5 separate regions of the Homo sapiens genome follow, and regions 2, 3, 4 and 5 are each linked to region 1. The links are contacts of gene promoters, found by promoter capture Hi-C in blood cells and fetal thymus (Javierre and others, 2016). All regions are on one chromosome and are shown on one strand. Each heading gives the region's core, a stretch centred on a gene start or on the middle of the fragment in contact. The rest is flanking DNA. Distances are from core to core; before and after follow the strand shown.

The links. Contacts are between HindIII fragments. The CHiCAGO score rates a contact against its expected background, and 5 or more counts as called.
Region 2: the fragment with the promoter of VAMP4 here is called in contact with the fragment with the promoter of PRDX6 in region 1 in 3 of 17 cell types (activated CD4 T cells, non-activated CD4 T cells and fetal thymus); the score reaches 8.4 in activated CD4 T cells.
Region 3: a contact is called between a fragment that was not itself captured here and the fragment with the promoter of PRDX6 in region 1, in 1 of 17 cell types (neutrophils). The highest score is 10.3, in neutrophils.
Region 4: a contact is called between the fragment with the promoter of DNM3 here and the fragment with the promoter of PRDX6 in region 1, in 1 of 17 cell types (activated CD4 T cells). The highest score is 6.3, in activated CD4 T cells.
Region 5: a fragment that was not itself captured here is called in contact with the fragment with the promoter of PRDX6 in region 1 in 1 of 17 cell types (neutrophils); the score reaches 7.8 in neutrophils.

Annotation. Positions count from the first base shown.
Region 1 is chr1:173,475,963-173,478,669 of GRCh38, forward strand. It overlaps PRDX6 (peroxiredoxin 6), which reads left to right and starts at 1,373. Exons shown (of 5, transcript NM_004905.3): 1 at 1,373-1,530. The coding sequence starts at 1,436. LOC100506023 (a long non-coding RNA gene) reads right to left here and starts at 1,193. Exons shown (of 3, transcript NR_037845.1): 1 at 670-1,193. RefSeq lists enhancers at 378-914, 1,412-1,571 and a silencer at 1,172-1,341. The HindIII fragment of the contact is 1,817 bases long and covers 1,061-2,707 here.
Region 2 is chr1:171,740,578-171,743,377 of GRCh38, forward strand. VAMP4 (vesicle associated membrane protein 4) reads right to left here and starts at 1,488. Exons shown (of 8, transcript NM_003762.5): 1 at 1,333-1,488. The HindIII fragment of the contact is 4,907 bases long and covers 1-2,657 here.
Region 3 is chr1:175,013,833-175,016,532 of GRCh38, forward strand. It overlaps MRPS14 (mitochondrial ribosomal protein S14), which reads right to left. Exons shown (of 3, transcript NM_022100.3): 3 at 1-1,019. The coding sequence ends at 837. Among named protein-coding and RNA genes, the nearest start is that of MRPS14, 8.2 kb to the right of the region's middle. The HindIII fragment of the contact is 1,233 bases long and covers 796-2,028 here.
Region 4 is chr1:171,840,196-171,842,997 of GRCh38, forward strand. DNM3 (dynamin 3) reads left to right here and starts at 1,303. Exons shown (of 21, transcript NM_015569.5): 1 at 1,303-1,622. The coding sequence starts at 1,462. RefSeq lists a silencer at 1,118-1,347 and an enhancer at 1,548-1,727. The HindIII fragment of the contact is 4,190 bases long and covers 1-1,992 here.
Region 5 is chr1:174,740,550-174,743,249 of GRCh38, forward strand. All of the region lies in intron 17 of RABGAP1L (RAB GTPase activating protein 1 like), which reads left to right. Among named protein-coding and RNA genes, the nearest start is that of RABGAP1L-AS1, 210 kb to the right of the region's middle. The HindIII fragment of the contact is 3,092 bases long and covers 1-2,700 here.

The sequences.
Region 1 (2,707 bases), core at 123-2,622:
GCCAGCCCCATCCAGAGGATTTTTCTCATCTCTGAACTCCAATCATTTACACCTTCCCCCATCAGAATTTACCCTACATTTTATTATAATTGCATATAAATATGCCTTCCCTGTAACAGCAGGGACTGTGTTTCTCCACTGTATGGCCTGGCACAGTGTCCAGCACACAGCAGGCAAAGCAAGAGTTACTGCATGAGCCAGTGTCATCATCCAAACGATAGCTACCATTTCCAGAGCACCTACCGTGAGCTGACTAGTTTACCTACATTATCCTGGTGGCTTTCCCAGACCAGACCACCCAAACCAAAGCAGCCCCCCAGTCACCCTCTAGGCACATAACCCTATTTTAGTTCTCTGAATACGACTGATTGCTGTCTAACATATTTTGGTTTGTGTGCTTATTGTCTGTCACCGGTTTCCCTTCACAAGAAGGAAAGCTCCAAGAGGACAGGCATCTTATCTACCTTGTACTTGGCTCATAGCAAATAAATGAATCTAAGCCGCCCACCTCCCTGGGTGACAGAGTTGACCTGCACACAGTAGGTCTCAAAGAGTATGTTTTAAATTTTATATTTAGATTTCAAGATAATTGTGTTGAATATTTTATGGTTCATAACAAACAGAAAGGGGAGGGCAGAATAAAAATAAATAAAAGTTTAGTTACATTACCCTAGCACTGACATTGGTACGGGAATTTTTGCTGCAATAAGAAAGCCACTTCCTCTGACATAAGGTCACCCATACTTCTGGGTCTTGCCACATCCTCTTAGACAGTTCATCGTAGCTGGGCTGGCTGGGGCGGTCAGGACTCCAGACGCTCACACTAAAAGAGGGGTGGTAGTCGAGCAGTCACTCCACTCCTCTGTAGGGAGCTGGCCGCGAGTGGGTGCGCAGCAGGGTGCGCGCGGACCCGTGCAGCGCCCAGGGCGGCTGTGCGAAGCCGCCGCAGCCTGCGCGCCCAGGCGATTCTCCACCTTGGGGCTCGCCTTCCTGCCGCGTTCCTCTTCCTTCCATCCCTAAAGCGCGTACGCCCTGCAGAGTCAAACCTGGCGCATCCTCAAGCTTCCAGGGGGCAACGTGACCGAGCCCCGCATCACGTGTGCAGAGACGGCCTATAGTGTCTGAAGGATGCCACCTAGTCGCAGGCCCGGCGGCGCCACCAACAGCGACCGCGGTAGTCCAGCTCGCGCCGCGTCCCGGCCCCAGCCCGGCCCGGCCCAGCCCCGCCCCGCGCCCAGCCCCGCCCCGCCCCGCGCCCAGCCCAGCCCCCGCGGCCCGGCCCCCAGCGGCCGGCCTCCCGCGGCCCCGCCCCCGCCGCCCCAGTCCCCGCCCCTCGCGCCTTCGTTTATTCCTCCGCGCGCTGGGACAGGCTGCTTCTTCGCCAGAACCAACCGGTTGCTTGCTGTCCCAGCGGCGCCCCCTCATCACCGTCGCCATGCCCGGAGGTCTGCTTCTCGGGGACGTGGCTCCCAACTTTGAGGCCAATACCACCGTCGGCCGCATCCGTTTCCACGACTTTCTGGGAGACTCGTAAGTGGCCACCGCGTAGCCCTGTCCTGGCCTCGGTTGCGCCGGACTCGGAGGTGCCTTCCCTGTTTCTTCTCCCTGCCGTCCTCCCGGCCGCTCAGCCCCCTGCGCCGCCCTCGCCTTCCCCCGCACTGGTTCCGGCGCGCGCCAGGCCGTGTGGCCTCTGCTCAGCGTCGGCTGCGCTGCTGGGAGCTGGCACCCGTTCGGCCTGCCCTGCGCGGGCCACTCGATCCCTCCTGGCCTCCCCGCCTCCGGCGTGGCTGGGCAAGGCCACGCCAAGGTGGGGGGTGGGGAGGATAAAATTGTGTTCTGCGGGTTCTGGAAACTCACCGCCCGCGGGAGGGTTTGTTGTCCATTTAACTCGTCTTAGTAAACTGTGCAGGTAGCGTGGTCAGGCCGAGGGCGCAGGGGCGGGGCGGCATTGACGATCACTTCCCCGGACTAGTGCCCAGGGTCGCACCGCCCTCCCACCCTCCGTTCTGGAATTTGCTCCCTGGGGAGGATGGGTGTCTAAAGCCAAAGTCGGAGGACACAGCTGCTGGCTATAGGTTACAGGAAGGCCAACGTATCATCTGAGGGTGCAGTGGTATTTGCAGGCTTCTGGGCACAAAATGTGAAATTTAAAACCACTAGCTGCCAAGTAGGTGGCCGAAAGACTTTTTGTCCAGAGCCGCCTCCAATGGCCAAGATATGATTTGATAACAGCTTTAGGAAGAGCCAAGAACACTCTGCGTAGGTGTGCCTTCAGAGATTCCAGAACTTGCAACACTTGGAGGGAAGGACTTTCTGACGCTGTTCCGCTGGAGTGGCCTATTCTTGCTAGTGATGGCCGTTCCAGGCTCCAGGACACGTGTACTCCCCAACTTTGAGACTCTCTTGTTTTCCAGTGGCTTGCCCCTCACTGTCCCCTCCGCTTTCTACCTTGCTTCTAGCACATGAGCTTGCTGATGATAGCCAAATTGATGACCTGTGATCTGACTTGGCAGTTTTACCATTATGGATAGGAGTAGTAAATCGGTGTTGCCCTTTTTTTTTTTTAACAGCTCCTGAATCAGCAAACTGGAAGTTGCTTAGTTTTCATCAGAAGCATTCCAGGCATGTCTAGTTATATTATGGTTCTGGAGTACTAGTGGTCCCACTACACTGTGGGGCTCCAAGGCTTGACAACAGTTCTTCCCCA
Region 2 (2,800 bases), core at 238-2,737, 1.7 Mb before region 1:
TCACATACATCTGGCCCTTTTATTCCTCATACTTTGATGTCAGAATACTTCATTCATGCAGAAATGTAACAGAATGCATGGAAAAACAGATGACAAGGCAAATTACTGAAGAACTTGTGCTTTTAACTATTATCTGTATTTAGATTTTAACCCCTGCAATGAGGCTGCCTCAACATCCCAAAGCAAACAACGGGCAGACTTATATAATGCCTTTATAAGACATACAGTAAAACTACAATCTTAAGGATGAGCAAACACCATATTCAGGTCTCTTAATCCCAAGAAACCATGTGCAACAAATAGCCCATCAGCAAAGCAGTAGGCAGATTAATTAGCTACCTTGATGAACTTTGATGTTATTTGCAACTGATTATTAGTAACTGATATGTGTATCAAACAACTAGTAGAAATAAATCATGCTCAGAAAGTAGACTAGGATATAGTCTGCCTAAGATTTCTCCTACAAAAAAAGACATGTGAATTCAGCTGTTTGTGACTAGGTATACATGTAAATAAGAGAGCCATCATGTACTTCCACATTGAGGATAGACCACCACTATACAATTCACTCAAATGAGTCACATCACCGTATGCTTCTTATACATCAGCATATACTTAAATGTCTATGTGTGCGTTTTTGTAAGTAGTACGTTATCTAGTCAATAGCTTTGAATCTGGGCAAAGGCTCTCCTTTTCCCAGCCTCCATTCTCTTTCTGATTCGTCTTCCTTGTCTGTCATCAGCCTTCTTGCTTGATGCAGTTTCACAGAAATAAAGTGACTTGGATGGACACAGACCGGAGATATTATTTGCAAAACCTGTCAAGTGTAACGATTCACCCCCACCTTCCGGTCATTATAAACACAGCAGGGTTGGCGCTCTTTCCCCCGGGCCCTTTAAATACACAATTTCAGGCAGCTCCGTTCACCCCCCACACCCAATCTGTCACACCAGGCCACGTCCCACGATATATCTGCTCCTAACGCTGGCCCTTCCTGCCCCATTGTACCCCCTGGAATTCCTCACTACATCCCACTCTTAACAAACCTTCCCCATCCATGGTACTGTTCTCTTCCCATCACCCCAGAGTACCCCTCAATTCCAATTCTTCTCTCCCTCAACTGCTCCTCGTCCGCATACCCCTGTCCTCGTCTTCCTTCCTCACGGCACCCCCGGCCCCAACCTTTTCCCACTCCGGGGTCCCTTCCTAGATCCCCGAGGCCCGCCGACCAGCCCGACTAGGACGTCGGGGGGCGGCAAGGCAGGGGCGTCTTCTTCGTTTCCTTCCTCCTCACACCAGCCCCTCCCGCTGCGAACAGGCCAGCGCCAGTACCTGAGGCTCCCGGGGAACTCCCGGCAGCTCTCCCGGGCTGGCGGTGCTGGGCGGGCGGGGGAAGGAGTAGGAAGCCGAGGTAAGAAGCTGGGAGGGGGAGACAGTTGGTGCGGACCCGGCGTCGGCCGCAGCGCCGCAGCAGCGCCTCCGCTCATCGAGCCGATCGGCGCTCGGCGGCCTGGCGCCAGGCGGAGGGGGCGGGTCCAGGGCACGGAGATAATCGAGGAAGTCGATCCGCCGAGCCCTATTCACCTAAAAGAGCCCGAACCCACACGCAGTTTAGATGCATCTCTCCAAATTTATGCTGTGCTTTAGGGGAGGAACAACCACTGGTTGTCCACGTTCCGGTCGTGATCCGGCGTGCGTGGAGGGCGATTAGGGGAGGAGTGGGAAACTTCCGAGAACCGCTCGGGACTGGGCGCCGCGCCGGAGTGCGTGGCTGGGGTGATGAGGCGTTAGAAAGAAGGTGGTGCTTGGTGGCACATCCGTCCCTCTGGCTGACTACGTTGAGTGGCAAGTGGAGAGTGGCTCGCAGCTCGAGGACCTGCTTCGGGTTCGTCTGGGGCCTTTTCTGAAGAAAGGAGATCTGTTTGATCCCCTGTTTACAGAATTAGAGCTAGACTTGGAAAGAGATGTTAAGGCCAGGCTCCTCCCTTTAGATAGGAGGAATATCTGGTTCAGAGAGGAGATTGACTTAAAGTTAACACGGCTAGTTTAGATAGATACGGGACGAGGGCTCGGTGTTCTTTTCCCGGTATCCCTTAGTTGTAACCTGAAAGCCTTCAGGAAATCGCCCTCGCCAGGCCATTCCGCCACTCTGCCCATTCCTTCCTCACTCCCTCCCCCTCCGCCCAATTTGGTATCATGTTTAGATCTCCACGCCCGCAGTAGCTGTCTACCAGAAACAATTCCTAATTTTGTTTTTCCGTTCTCTTATTTGTTTTATTATCCGTTCCTCCCACGCCCCAGCTGGATTATTTTACTCATTGAATCATATTCACTACACATCTTTTAAAATTAATACAGTATCTATGGGTCCTTTGTTGATACAGTATTTTAACTGTCTGAAATACTGTGCCAGGCACTTTCTAAAGACATAAAAATAAGAGGGGGTGTTCAAGAACAAGAGTAGACAAGAAAACAGCAGGAGGAAAGATCTGCGGACACTAAAGGAAAGGAAAGAATAGACACCCTCTTACCAAAAAGTTGTTCTTCTTTTGTTTGATGTTTATTTTTATGTAAAAATGTACTAACGAATTTGAAAGATGCCATGACTAAGGCAACGATGCTCCACTCTGATTCACTTGGAGTTGAATCACTTGGAAAGCTTTTAAAACTACGTAGGTGCCCACGTGCTACCTAGATTCTGATTTAAATGTTCTGAGATTTAGAAACAGCCGTTGAGTTGTCAGTTGAAGGTTCTGAAAGCTTAATGCTAAACTCAGTTGCCTGTGTTTATTCAGTCCAA
Region 3 (2,700 bases), core at 162-2,661, 1.5 Mb after region 1:
AAAAAAATCTCACCCCTCACCTCCTGATTTATTAAGTTCTCCAGGAATATTTTCCTGATGTTAAGTAGGTACTTCCATTCAGTATGTATATTTTTATCACTGGGCTGATGATCACACTGTTGAGTTACTGAATGAGAACTTTGTGCTACCCTTACTCATTTCTGTTATGGATTAAATAAACATAAAAATAGGGAATATATACTGTTCCAACAAACTTTTCCTCTTTAGATGGAGACTTTCAAGGACTTAAAGAGGCATAATTTGTTTTAAAGTCCCTTAAGGATGGACAAGAAAACACTTAGTGGTTCTTTTGTTCAGCCATCACAAGAAGAAGTGGAGCATTAGATAATCCAGAACAGCAGCCTTGCTATCCAATCTGTTTATCTAACAATAATAGTTAAGGGGAGCTCTGCAGGTCAGCAAAGCTAGTCCAGGATTACAAACTGCCATACATGAGCTACATGTCAATTAGTTGGATTATGTATAAGATAGCATTTTATGAAATAATGCTCTTAATACAAAAACCCCTATATGTTACTAAAAGATTAAACTTAAAAGGAGGGTATAAAAAACATTCACAGAAAATATTTATTATGCTACTCTTTGTACTATGTATGGGAACAGTATGTTTGTTAAGTCCAAGAGAAAAGATAATTCACTGACATGAAACACCCAAATGTCTTCATTTTAAAAGTAGTTTAGAGATAGCATCAGGTAGGCCAAACAACTGTACTGGGCCCCTGTAGAGATTAGGGTTTGGTCTATTAAAAAAAATCTTTGCTTGCTGGAACTGCAAGCTTGGCTTCCCTGCAAGCTCAATAGGTTCTGGAGCTCATTTACCATGTCGCTCGCTGGATCCCAGAAAGTTGCCCATGGTCAGCTAAGTGACGGAAGACTATACGACTAAGCCTCCAGCGCCGCTTCACACCACGCGGACGGGACGTCATAACACACCGATTTCTGATTCTAACAGGACAGCTATCCCGGGGGAGGGCAGCAATTTCTTCATCAGCCACATCCTAAGGGAAATCACATTATTACACAGATCACATTACATTGTTGCACATGTATTTTGCTCCTTCTCACTTGCAGGTAATTTTCTTTTCTTTTTTTTTTTTTTTTGAGACAGAGTCTCGCTCTGTCACCCAGGCTGTGGGTGTTAGATTGTGCAATGTCACAATCTCAGCTCACTGCAACCTCCGCCTCCTGGGTTCAAGTGATTCTCCTGCCTCAGCCTCCCGAGTAGCTGAGATTACAGGTGTGCACTACCACACTCAGCTAATTTTTTGTATTATTAGTAGAAACGGGGTTTCACCACGTTGCCCAGGCTGGTCTCAAACTCCTGAGCTCTGGCAATCCGCCCATCTCTGCCTCCCAAAGTGCTAGGATTACAGGTGTGAGCCACAGCGCCTGGCCACTGGCAGGTAATGTTCATTGCATGAGTACCATAATTCATTTATCCATCCTACATTTGATGGTCATCTTACGATTTGGGCGAATATAAATAGTGCAGCTACATACTCTTGTTTAACTCATTTGTAAAGTATGTGAATGTATTTCTGTTGCCGCCTCATGTTTTTTGAATCACGAAAGTGAAACCTCTGGAATGATGATCAAATAGGAGGGAATGTGGCTTGAGATAAGACTAGAGAAGGAGGAAGGAGAGTATCACATGGAGCCCTGATGTCTATGGTAAAGATTCTGACAGCTAGAGAAGTAAAGGGGAGAGATCAGATGAGGTTTATATTTAAAAAAAATCATTTGCAAGGTAGAGGATGAATCAGGTAAGGGCAAAGTGGTTGAGGGGAGAAAAGTAGGGATTACAGCAGTAGCTAGGGCTCAGGTTTTGTCAGTAGAGATTTCTTCTTATGTATGTGTTCAAGAGTGTGAGTGTTCATAATATTCACTTTAATCTGATAAGTGTGCTAACAAGTAGATGGACCCTGTGCTAGACTGCGGTGCAAGCAAAATAACACATTAAAATAACACAAATTAAATGAAAGTATATAAAAGCCAAAAATTAACAAAAGCTTATGCATGTGTTACCATTATGAACTAACAGAATTACATAAAACAACATGATTGCCAGGCACAGTGGCTCACGCCTATAATCCCAGCACTTTGGGACGCCGAGGCAGGCGGATCATCTGAGGTCAAGAGTTCGCGACCAGCCTGACCAACATAGGGAAACCCCATCTCTACTAAAAATACAAAATTAGCTGGGTGTGGTGGCACATGCCTGTAATCCCATCTGGCCGGGAGGCTAAGGCAGCAGAATCGCTTGAACCCAGGAGGCAGATGTGGTGAGCCCAGATTGTGCCACTGCACTCCAGCCTGGGCAACAAGAGCAAAACCCCATCTCAAAAAAAAAAAAACAAAAAAAAACCATGATTGAGCCATTGAGTAGTAAACAATAAATGCTATACAAGGAACTGGAGAGGAGAAATGACTGGGCAAGAAGATTGAAGCCAAGTTTCATGGAGGTGGACCTTAAAGAATGGCTAGAAATTATGGATTGATTGATTGATACATACCCCTTCCTTCTTGTTCCCCGAAAGATTTAAGGCAGTTTACAAATGAGGAAACTGGGGCAAAGAGAAATGAGAGTAGGAAAGATAAAAGCCTCAGGACACAAAAGTGCATGCTGTGAAATTAGAACTGGGACATAAATTTGACTTGTAAGCTACTTGGCAGGCAGCA
Region 4 (2,802 bases), core at 53-2,552, 1.6 Mb before region 1:
TACATGAAATCAAACCAATATGGTCTTTGGCCTTTTTCATTCTACATAATGTATCTGAGATTGTTGCTATATCAAAAGTCTTTTTTGTGGCAGAGATTATTTCACTATATATATATACCACGTTTGTTTATTCATTCACCTGTTGATAGACATTTGGGTTGTTTTCAGGTTTTTTGACATTATGAACATTTTAATATGTCTTTTTAGAGTTAGAAGGAACTGTACATTAAATGCTGAGATTACAAAAGATGACTTCAGTTTTGAATAAATTGAGTCTGTAGTACTTGTAGGACACTCAGGTAGTATTCTGGGCTCCTCTTGGAGTACAGTCTAAGTTGCAGAAGAGAGACAGGGTCTAGCAATGTAAATTTCTGTAGTCGCCAGCCTTGATTCAGAGTTAAAGCTATGGGAAAGTCCTCAGGCAGAGGACAAACATTAGACAAGAAAATGCCCATATATGAAACCCTGCGAAGCATCAGTATTTGAGGAGCAGACTAAAAAGGAACCGTCTGTGGAGGCTAAGAGAAGCATGGCCATTTATCTTTGTGTCCCGATCATCAGGCACAGGACCCCACACACAGTCACTTCTCAATGTGCTAAATTTCACAGAATGCGTCCAGGGTACCTGGTTCTGGATAGATCCGGTAGAAGGAGATAGACCGGGAGGGCAAATGGCATGAGGAGTCTCACAGGCCAGAGTGATTAAAGGGGTGTATCGGGGCGGTAAACCCTACAGACTCTACCTGTGCTTATGCGGGGCTGGGGAGGACGAGTCATTACAGATGAAGAATTAAGTAAGGTCAGACCACTCAGGGCCTTAGATGGATGTCACATTGAAGAATTTAGACTCCAACAGGCCTGCCACCCTGGGAGGAGTCATCGCGGATTCTGGAGAAGGGCGTGACAGAGGAGATTTCCTTTCGGGAAGTGTAGTCTGGCAGCGGTGCCCCGGTGGTGGCGGCGGCGGTGCTGCTGTTGCTGGTGATCGTGTGGTGGTGTTAGCGGCGATAGTGCTTTCCACTGGGCTTTGGCTTGGTAGCCGCTGAAAGAGAACAACGCTGCCGCTGCTGCTGATTTCATGCCATTTCCTGACCCGGCGCTGTAACTTGGCCTCTGAGCCTTGGCCACAGAACGCAGAGGCCGTGGCATCTGGCCGCAGCTGGGCTGCAGTGCGTGCGCGCCTGGCCTGGTGGTCCGATGGGAAGCCCGGGGCGGGGCAGCCGCGGGGCGGGGGCGGGGCGTCGCGGAGATAGGCCACGCCCCTGCCCGCCCGCGCAGGCGCGCTGCGGGTCGTTAGCTGTCAGAGCCAAGCGGCGGGCTGGCGGCGGGCTCCGACGTCTGCGCCAGGACCTGGCTGGCTGAGCCCGGCGCAGCAGCAGCAGCCAGGGCAGCGCGGCCCCTACTCCCTGTCAGGTCGTAGAGGCGAGCAGGGACCAGCTGGTCGCCGGCCCCTCGGGCAAGATGGGGAACCGGGAGATGGAGGAGCTGATCCCGCTGGTGAACCGTCTGCAGGACGCGTTTTCGGCGCTGGGACAGAGCTGCCTGCTGGAGCTGCCGCAGATCGCCGTGGTGGGCGGCCAGAGCGCCGGCAAGAGCTCGGTGCTCGAGAACTTCGTGGGCAGGTAAGCGCGCAGGGCGCGGAGTAAGGATGCGGCAGTGGGGCGACCCCGCTGCGGGCCGTTGGAACGTGGACGGGCAGCGGGAGCCAGAGGGTGGATGGACCAGGCGCTGCGGTGGAATGGGGGGCAGAGTGGAATGGGGGGCAGAGTGGCGGTGTCCGTGGGGCGGGCGGGGTCCTCCAGCTCTGGGCATCCTCCGTCCCCTGCCACCCCCCGCCTGGTGGCCCTCCTGCCTGCCTTTCATCGTGCGATACAAAGCCATTTCCTCCCTGTCCTCCAGTCGGGGAGTCGGGGGAGGGGTCCGCCCCGGGCTCGACCCCCACCCCCTCGGTGCGCGCCAGCCCCGGGCAGCCTCCCTGCGTAGCGCGCCGAAAGCTTCCCAGTGCCCCTCTCCTGTTTTCCCAGCTCAACACCCCCCTCCTTTTCCTGTCGCCCTCCGTGAGGCTCCCTGTGAGGCTGTGGGGCTTTATCCCCCGAGCCCCCTCCCTTAGGTGGAGATGCTTTCCTTCTCGCCAGGGTTCTCGTTCCTCTCAGCTGTCTACTGTTGCCTGCCTCTAGCTGGGGAGGCGGGGTGCGAGGAGAAAGACGTCGTTTGTTGTGGTGAAGCTTTATCCAGAGACGCTTCCCCACCATTCTCCTCCCGGAGAGTCGAAGAATAAAAGGTGGTGTGTTTGCGTGTGCACCTATTCACAGCTTCAGGCAATTGTGAGAGAGCCCGAGGCACAGACTTGGCAGGGGGTGGACGTGGACTTATGTTGTCCAGGTGCCATGTCATTCCTGCATCATCTCGGAACTGACCAGCATCTTTCTCGCACTCTCTCTGCGCCCCCTCCCCCAGCATCATCTTCCGTTCTCTAAGCTCCTATTTGTCTTGCTAGCCTTCAAGACAACATTCTGAATCTAAATTGTAGCTGTGGTTTTCCTCATGACTCTTAATACAGAAACAGCTAAGGAATTAATTTTCGAATTAGGAATCAGCATTTCTTCCACTGAGCAATTCATGAGGGATTAAGTTACCTTAATGGCCTTGCCTGAAGAGTGCAGACATTTGCTAAGAAAAGCCCATTTAAAAGCATTATGAAAACTGAAATCTGTTTCCTAGTAATAGAAAACCAGGTAGAAATGTACAGTATCCAAGAAAAAATGCTGGCGAGATTGTACTTTATTCTTTTTATTTGGCTCA
Region 5 (2,700 bases), core at 39-2,538, 1.3 Mb after region 1:
GTGAGTTCTTTGATATATTGACTTCTTTTTCTTTGAGTCGATTCCCAGTAGTGGCATTGCTGGATCAAATGGTAATTATATTTTTATTTTTTTGAGAAATCTCCATACTGTTTTCCATAGTGGCTGTACTAGTTTACATTCCCACCAACAGTGTATATGAGTTCCCTTTTCTCCACTTTCTTGTCAACATCTGTCTTTTTTAATAATAGGGATTCTGGCTGAGGTATGCTATCTCATTGTGGTTTTGATTTGCATTTCTCTGATGATTCATGAGGTTGAACATTTTTTCATATACCTGTTGGCTGTTTGTATTTATTTTTTTGAGAAATGGCTATTCATATACTTTGCCCAAGTATGAATGGGATTATTTGTTTTTTTCCTGTTGAGTTGAGTTCCTTATCTGTTCTATATATTAGTTCCTGTTGGATAAATAATTTGCAAATATTTTATCCCATTCTGCAGGTTGTCTCTTCACTCTGTTGATTTTTTTGTTTTGTTTTTTTTTTTTTGTGTGTGGGAGCTTTTTAGTTTAATTAATTCCCAATCACTTATTTTTGGTTTTGTTGCCTGATCTTTTGAGGCCTTTGTAACAAATTCTTTGCCTAAACCAACAACCAGGAGAGGGTTCCCTAGATTTTTTCTTCTAATATTTCTATAGTATCAGGTTTTACTTTTAAGTCTTTAATCTACTTTGAGTTCATTTTTGTATATGGTGAGATAATGGTCCAGTTACATTCTTCTGCATGGCTATACAATTTTCCCAGCACCGTTTATTGAAGAGATTGTCCTTTCCCCAGTGTAAGTTTTTGTTGTTTGTTTTTGTGTTTTTTTGAGACAGAGTCTTGCCTTGTCACCCAGGCTGGAGTGCAGTGGCATGATCACTGCTCACTGTGGCCTCAACCTCATGGGCCCAGATGATCCCCCTGCCTCACCCTCCCAAGTAGCTCAGACTACAGGCATTTGCTGCCACACCTGACTGGTGTTTTATTTTTTGTAGAGATGGGGTCTCACTCTGTTGCCTAGGCTGGTTTTGAACTCCTGGGTTCAAGCAATCCTCCTGCCTCAGCCTTCCAAAGTGTTGGGATTACAGGTGTGAGCCACTGTACCCGGCCCCCAGTATAAATTCTTGTTGGCTTTGTTGAAGATCAGTTGGCTGTAACTATGTGTCTTTATTTCTGAGTTCTCTGTTTTGTTCTACTGGTCTATGTGGCTACTTTTATACCATGTTGTGGCATTTTTAAGGATTTTTTTTTTAAGTGGGGAGTTTGAGACCAGCCTGGGCAACATGGCAAAAGCCTATTTCTACAAAAAAAAAAAAAAAAAAAAAAAAAGTAGAAAAATTAGCCAGGCATGGTGGCATGCGCCTATAGACCCAGCTACTTGGGAGGCTGAGGTGGGAGGATTGCTTGAGCCTGGAAGGTTGAGGCTGTGGTGAGCCATGATAGCACTACTATGCTCCAGCCTGGGTGACAGAGCAAGACCCTGTCTCAAAAAAAAAAGAAGAAGAAGAAGAGGAAGAGGAGGGGGAGGGGGGAGGAGGAGGAAAGAAGAAGAAGAGGAGGAGGGGGAGGGGGAGGAGGAAGAAAGAAGAAGAGGAAGAGGAGAGGGAGGGGGAGGAGGAGGAAAGAAGAAGAAGAGGAGGAGGGGGAGGGGGAGGAGGAGGAAAGAAGAAGAAGAAAGAAAAGGGGGCCAGATGCGGTGGCTCAGCTTGTAATCCCAGCACTTTAGGAGGCCAAGGCAGGTGGATCACTTGAGGTCAGGAGTTCGAGACCAGCCTAACTAATGTGGTGAAACCCATCTCTACTAAAAATACAAAAATTAGTTGAGTGTAGTGGCGCACACCTGTAATCCCAGCTACTCGGGAGGCTGAGGCAGGAGATTTGCTTAAGCCCAGGAGGCGGAGGTTGCAGTGAGCTGAGATCGCGCCACTGCACTCCAGCCTAAGCGACAGAGCAAGACTTCATTTCAAAGAAAAAGGAAGAAAGAAAAGTGGTATGAGCACAAGAACTCTAACAAAAGATTTCTGGATGGATTGGGTTAATGGAAAACTGGCAGAAGCCTGGAGGAAGGAGAAGGTCAAGATCAGCTAATAGTAGCTGATAAGAAGTCCTGTATCATTATGAAGAGTATCAAAAGCACCCCTGCAGCCTGGGATGGTTGACTGATAACTATAACTGTAAAACAATATAATCCGATGTGTATCATGACTTAAGAGAATTTGAGAAGAACAGAAAGGTGAATGCCAGTATTCAATGGCCAATGGAACATGTGTTTAGGGACTTTATAGCAATACTTCAGTGCTCTAATGTTCAGGTCATACCTCCCTATCATTCCCTAGGTGGTGTGTTATCTGTTTATATTTTTATCTGCTATCCTAATCTGGGAGTCCTCTGAGTGTAGGGATGACTTATCCATCTTTGTAAATGTCCTCAAAATGCTTGACATATGATGAATATGTTACCACAACACCAGGGGTTCAGTCTAGGTCCTGCTGCTCACAGCACAGAAAGCCAATGACTAAGATGATGATTATTGCCAAGGAAGAAGGCTTTAATTGGGGGCTGCAGCAGACGAGATGAGATGGGAGCTCAGTCTCAAATCCATCTCCCTGACAAACTGAAACTAGGGACTTATATAGCAGGGAAGAGATATAGCAATATGTAAGAAACAGGAACTAGAGAGGGGTAAGGAAGCAATTAT